2 separate regions of the Homo sapiens genome follow, and region 1 is linked to region 2. The links are contacts of gene promoters, found by promoter capture Hi-C in human tissues and cell types (Jung and others, 2019). All regions are on one chromosome and are shown on one strand. Each heading gives the region's core, a stretch centred on a gene start or on the middle of the fragment in contact. The rest is flanking DNA. Distances are from core to core; before and after follow the strand shown. Region 1 overlaps PRR5-ARHGAP8 (PRR5-ARHGAP8 readthrough). Region 2 holds the start of PHF21B (PHD finger protein 21B).

Evidence for each region. Contacts are between HindIII fragments. The study calls those that stand out against the background at their distance.
Region 1: a contact is called between a fragment that was not itself captured here and the fragment with the promoter of PHF21B in region 2, in 1 of the 25 tissues and cell types used here (stomach).

What each region holds. Positions count from the first base shown.
Region 1 is chr22:44,846,427-44,849,126 of GRCh38, reverse strand. PRR5-ARHGAP8 (PRR5-ARHGAP8 readthrough) reads right to left here. Exons shown (of 15, transcript NM_181334.6): 12 at 1,077-1,154; 13 at 67-195. It overlaps ARHGAP8 (Rho GTPase activating protein 8), which reads right to left. Exons shown (of 12, transcript NM_181335.3): 9 at 1,077-1,154; 10 at 67-195. Among named protein-coding and RNA genes, the nearest start is that of ARHGAP8, 95 kb to the right of the region's middle. The HindIII fragment of the contact is 5,670 bases long and covers 1-2,700 here.
Region 2 is chr22:45,008,610-45,011,313 of GRCh38, reverse strand. PHF21B (PHD finger protein 21B) reads left to right here and starts at 1,309. Exons shown (of 13, transcript NM_138415.5): 1 at 1,309-1,818; 2 at 2,704. The coding sequence starts at 1,765. RefSeq lists an enhancer at 2,329-2,704. The HindIII fragment of the contact is 18,572 bases long and covers 1-2,704 here.

The DNA.
Region 1 (2,700 bases), core at 131-2,630, 160 kb after region 2:
GCCAGTAGCTGGGGGACAGCATCTGAGGACCAAGCCCCCCACCCCTGCGCCAGGGCAGCTACGCACAGGTGATCCCGAGAATCTGCTCGTAGGCCTGGAAGGTCAGAAGCGGCTGGGGCAGCTCTCGCAGGAAGGTCTTCAGGATCACGGCAGGGATGTGAATGTCCCCGTAGTCGTCAAAGTTCACGGGCTTCCCTGCACACACAACACAGCACTGCTGAGGTCTGCACCCCGGCCTGGGCACTGCCGCTGCAGAACGAGCTCTGAGACACAGGGCGTGAGATGTCCGGATGGGACGCACCTGATGCTGGAGCCATGTGTCCTAGGGATGATGCTGTCCCCACCTAGAAATGGGTGTGCTCTGGCCCCATCAGCCCCTACACTACCCTAACTGCCTCCTCCCGGGCTCCCAGTGGGGACTGGGGTGGGCTGCTGGCTTCTCTGTGGCATGCTGTTGCTCCCGGCTACAATGCCAGCTCTCTGAGGCCAGGTCTGTGGCAGAGATGACACCGCAGGCCCTGGGCCTGAGACAGGCAGGCCTGAGCTGGGCCCCGTGCAGACCTGATGCTCCATGATTGTGTAATGCACAACTGATGACGGGAGCGAGTGGGAGCGAGGGCAAGTCTTGTCAGCAAGACAGCGCCTTCATTAGCGTCAGTGCAATGCATCCTCAGCTCAGAGGCCACTGCCCCTGCCTGCGGGTTACACATGGCAGTTAAGGAAGCCGTGCTGAGCCAATTCGGGGGAGCTGCCAGATAAAAAAAACCAGCTTCCCTGCACTGCAGGGTGTCTCCTGAAAGCACGTGCCACGTGGTGTGGATGGAGAGACCCTAAAGGCAAAATGGCATCATGCGGCCACCATGTCCCAGTGGGGTTGGGGGTCTGGACAAAAGGTCCCCACTCTGGACTACCAGTGGGCCCCTCGATGCCTCCTGGGAAGCTGCCCCCACCCTGAGTGTTTTCTGGGAGTTGGGTGGGTTGCGGGGGCGGTGCTTCCCTGCCTCCGCTCTGAGGCCCCGGAGCGCTGTGCTCGCTGACCAGGCAGCTCGGGGCTCAGGACTGCGGGACACCCTCACCTTGGTTGTAGAGCCTCTGGATCTCGCGGACGGTCTGCACGCTGGCGGATCTCCGGAACAGGCCCTCGGTGCGCAGGCCTGCAGGAGAGGAGCTTCCAGGCATCTCACAGGTCCCAGCCCAAAGGGCTTCCAGGACATTATATGACACTCCCCTGCCCACGGCATCACCCACCTGTGGCTGGCCTCCACACATTTATTTGTTCCTCAAATCCTTTCCATATTCCCCAACCCACCCGATTTCCCACCTCTGTGGTCCATGGAAAGGGAAAGCGGAAATAGACTCTAATCTCAGACAGACCTAGGCTCTAGTCCAGCTCTGCCTACCAGCTGTGTGACCTCAGAGAAAGCTCTCGGCCTCTCTGAGCCTATCTGCCTTGTTTATCTACAGAATAAGGCCATGAGCTCCTGTCTCCAAGGGCTGCAGAGAGGACTGGACACGGTGATGCCCAGCAAGTGCCTGGCACCTGGGAGACGTCCAGACACGTGACTTCCCACAAGAGCTAGGGCTGAGCTGTCCAGCACAGCAGCCAGTAGCTGCACATGGGGATTTAACTTTAATTAAAATTAAATAAAATTAGAAATCTAGTCACTCAATTGCATGAGCCTCATATGAACTGCCCTATTGAGCTACTGCCACAGGGGCTGGTGGCTGCTGTTTAGACAGTGAAGATATAGATGATGTCCAAGTTCAGTTGGGCAATTCTGCTAAAGAGGTGATTGTAATCAAAGAAGAAAACTTGTCTCCATTGTCAGTTTATAAAGAGCATTTTCAGTGCTTGTAATTGGCTCATGAAAGCAGCTGTGGGGTAGAGGGAAGGGCTCCCTCTGGCCAGGCCCCTGCTGGCTTCAGAGCCAGAAAGAGAAACAGGCCTGAGCCTGCCCTTGGGGGGCCTGCGGTGCATGATGGGGGTGCCCCGGAACACCAGGACCTAGGACTGTGGCGCAGGCATCTGGAGGTGCAAGTCTTCTTGGGACTTGCAAGGCCTGACCTCCCCTTCTCCTCCCAACTTCCTCGAAGCCCCGCACGCTCCCGCACTCCCACAGCCACGAGCCCCTTCACCTGCTCTCCTCTCTGGGGCCTTTCTGTCACACGGCATGGCCAGCTTCTCCCCGTCCTCAGAGCTCAGCTCCACTGCCCCTCCCTCAGGGAAGCCCCCCAACAAGGTCAACCCCCCTAACAGGGACCCCGGTCTGGCAGGGCCTTCTCCCTGATGGAAGTCAGCATCTGGGCAGCTCTCGGTGGAATAGCTGCTGCTTCCCCATCCCGTGTGCTCACTTTGATATCCCCAGAGTCTGGCACGAGGGAGGCACGTAGCGAATGCCTCCCAAGTGAATGAGTGAATGATGGGGAGGCGTGAAGAAGGCAGTTCTGCCTGGGAGAGGGGCAGAATTGGAGAGGGCTTCCGGAAAGCAGGACCTAACCGGTAGAGGGCAAGGAGGGGCAGTCCAGGCCGGGGACAGGCAGGCCTCTTGGGGTCCCAGTGTGGGGTGCCCCCCGTACCTGCTCACCTGCCAGCTGAGCATCGTGACTGAGGGAAATGCTGGGGCCGCAGGGTCTGGGGTTTGAGGGAGATGGTCTCCCAGGCCCCCGCCCAGCACATCTGCTCACTGATGCCACCCCCAT
Region 2 (2,704 bases), core at 60-2,559:
ACTTCGGCCTCCCAAAGTACTGGGATTACAGGTGTGAGCCACCGCCCCCGGCCGGCCTCCTATGGAGTCTTAAAGCGCTGTTTGCAAGTTTCTGTTAACTAATTTGGGTTAAAGTAAGGGTCATCTACATGCCCCTCTGCTTTTTGCATAGTTACTCATATCCTAAGTCTCACTCTGTCGTGCTCTGAAGGCGAGGTGCTGGGTTGTGGGATGAGGGGCCATCTGTGTTTGGGGGTCCCAAACACGTAATTTATTACAAATTCCCTAACAGAGAGCAGAACAACACTGGGGTCCTCACTTGAAAAAAAAAAAAAAAAGAAAAGAAAGAAAAGGGGGAATTCCAATAACTTCTGCCAACAAAAGCAATGTGTGACCTGTTGGCATATGTTGAAAGGGACATTTGCTGATGGTGCTTGCTTGGGTATTTTTTGTGCTGCCGGAGAGGAATCTGAAGTTAAAACGACTTAACAGCTTAAACGTTTACTTTGACATATGATTGCACCCTTTCTCCCCAGCGTGTTTCAAACGTGCCAGTTTGCTGCCAACAGGGCACCCGGCACTCCGACCTGAATGAAGATGGCAGCCCCGAGGTGGTGACAGTGACTCTGGGACATTAACCTCCTGGCTGCGCGGCTGGGGGTTCTGAAACGCGACCTCCGCAGCTGTAATTATAATTGTTTTAGGTCGCATTGACCGGGCCTGTTTACGACTCTTAACAAGAGTCTTAAAATGTCCAGTGACATCTGTTGAGAGTTTAATCGTGTAAAAAAAAATCATTAAAGGAAGAGCCAAGAGATCAATTTTCTTGCTGTTTAAACAACACGGAGGCCATCAGGCGGCGGGGGAATGTGGCGACGCGACTAATTTAATCCCCCAAGTCGCGGCGCTGGTATGGACAGGAGGGGACGGAAGAATTTAAATAAAATATCAGAGGGAGGCGGAGGAGGGGGGAAAGGAGGGAGCCGAGGACCAGGGTGAGGAGAAATGGAAACACGGACTCGCAGCCTCCCAGCGGAAAGTGTCCTGATCCCGGCGTTACACGGCGCAGGGGGTGGGGGCGCCGCGTTCCCCGGGTTGGCCCGGGGACGGAGAGGATGACTCCGCAGTCGTCCTCTCCGAGCGCCCGGCCCGAGCAGTCCCCGGAGCCGGCGACCGTGCGTCCCCGTCCACCGCCACTTTTGTTCTCCGCTCGGGGTGCCGGGCCGCGGCGGGGCGGCAGTGCGCAGGCGCGGGCGGGGCGGGGGCGGGGCGCGGCGGGCTGAGGGTCCCGGCACCGCCCCCCGCCGCCCCGGCCCGCTCCATCCGGGCACTGCCGAATTAGCATCGTGCCGAGGCACAACTTTGCCGAGGCCCAACGAGATCCAGGCGCGCGCGCCGGAGGAAATATAGTCCCTGCCCGCGGGAGGCTCGCGCGGGAGGAGGCGGCGGCGGCGGCGGCTGGGCGGGCGCGCGCGGGGCTGCGCGGGGCTCCCGGCGCCGGGGGGGCCATGCTCCGGGCCGCGCCGGCAGCCCGGGGACCCGGCGCAACTTGCCGGGCAGCCTGAGGAGTTGGGGCAGCCGAGGGCTCGGCGCCGCGGCGCCCGGAAGCCTGTCTTCCCCTTCGCCAGCCCCCTTCCCTTTCGGCCGTGGGGGAGGGGGCTCGTGTCCCCCCCAACCCAGCCCGGAGGCCGCGTCCGCCCGCGCCCGCTCTGGCCCCCGCGGAGCCGCGCAACTTCCCGGGAGCCCGGGCCAAAGTGAGCGCAAAGTGCTGCCCAAGTTGCCGGGATGGAGCTGCAGAGCCGGCCCGAGGCGCTCGCCGTGGAACTCGCGCGCCACCAGGTAGGTGGCCGGGGGCCGGGCCCGGGGCCGGGGAGTGTGTTGCGGGGTGAGGGGGTCGGGGGACCCGAGCCCAGCATCCTCTCTTCCGGGTCTCTGGGTCTTCCAGGCTGGAGCCTGCCCGGGGGCGGGGGGCGAGGGAGTGAGCACACGCGCGGACCCCCTTCTGGGCTCCCCTCCGCCTGCCCCTGGCGCTGTCCTGCACAGTTTGCGGGATCGAGGACGCGTGGGACCCGAGCCTGGAGTCTTCTCTTAAGCGATGTAGGGTCTGCATGACTGGGAGGGTGCCTGGAGGGGGCCCCTTCGTGAGCCGGTCCCGGGGAGGGGAGTGCGAATAGGCCCCCTTCCGGCCTCCCCTCGGGCCCCCGCGCCCCGGGCGAACCTGCCCGGTGTGCAGAAGTAGTTTTGGCGATCGCTGCTGGCGAGCGGCGGCGTGGCGGCCGGAGCCTGAGCGGGGCTCGGCGTGCGCGTGTGTGTGTTGGGGAGATTAGGACGCGACTTGAATATTTATGAGCTTTGCTCGACACGGACTCGCCGTGTTTACTTGGCTCTTTGTTCCTCCCCCCTCCCCCGGCACACACTCACACTCACACTCACTCGCACACGCACCCCGGCCTGCAAACTTGCACGGCTCGGGGCGCGCCGCCGGGTGGCCTCGGCCCCCGCCCCGCCCCGCGAGCTGCCCCGATGAGGCGGCAGCCACAGGTAAGCGGCCCCGCGCGGCACTGCCCGGCCGCCGCGCGTGCAGGACGCGGCCCGGGAAACTTGGGGTGCGCTGCGGCCGGCCCCGCCCGTGGGGCTCCGGGCGGGGGGTGCCGCGGCCCGCGGTGCTGGGGTGCACCTGACCCCGGGTGGCCTGCCTGAGCCCGCTCCTCCGTGTTTCCGCAGA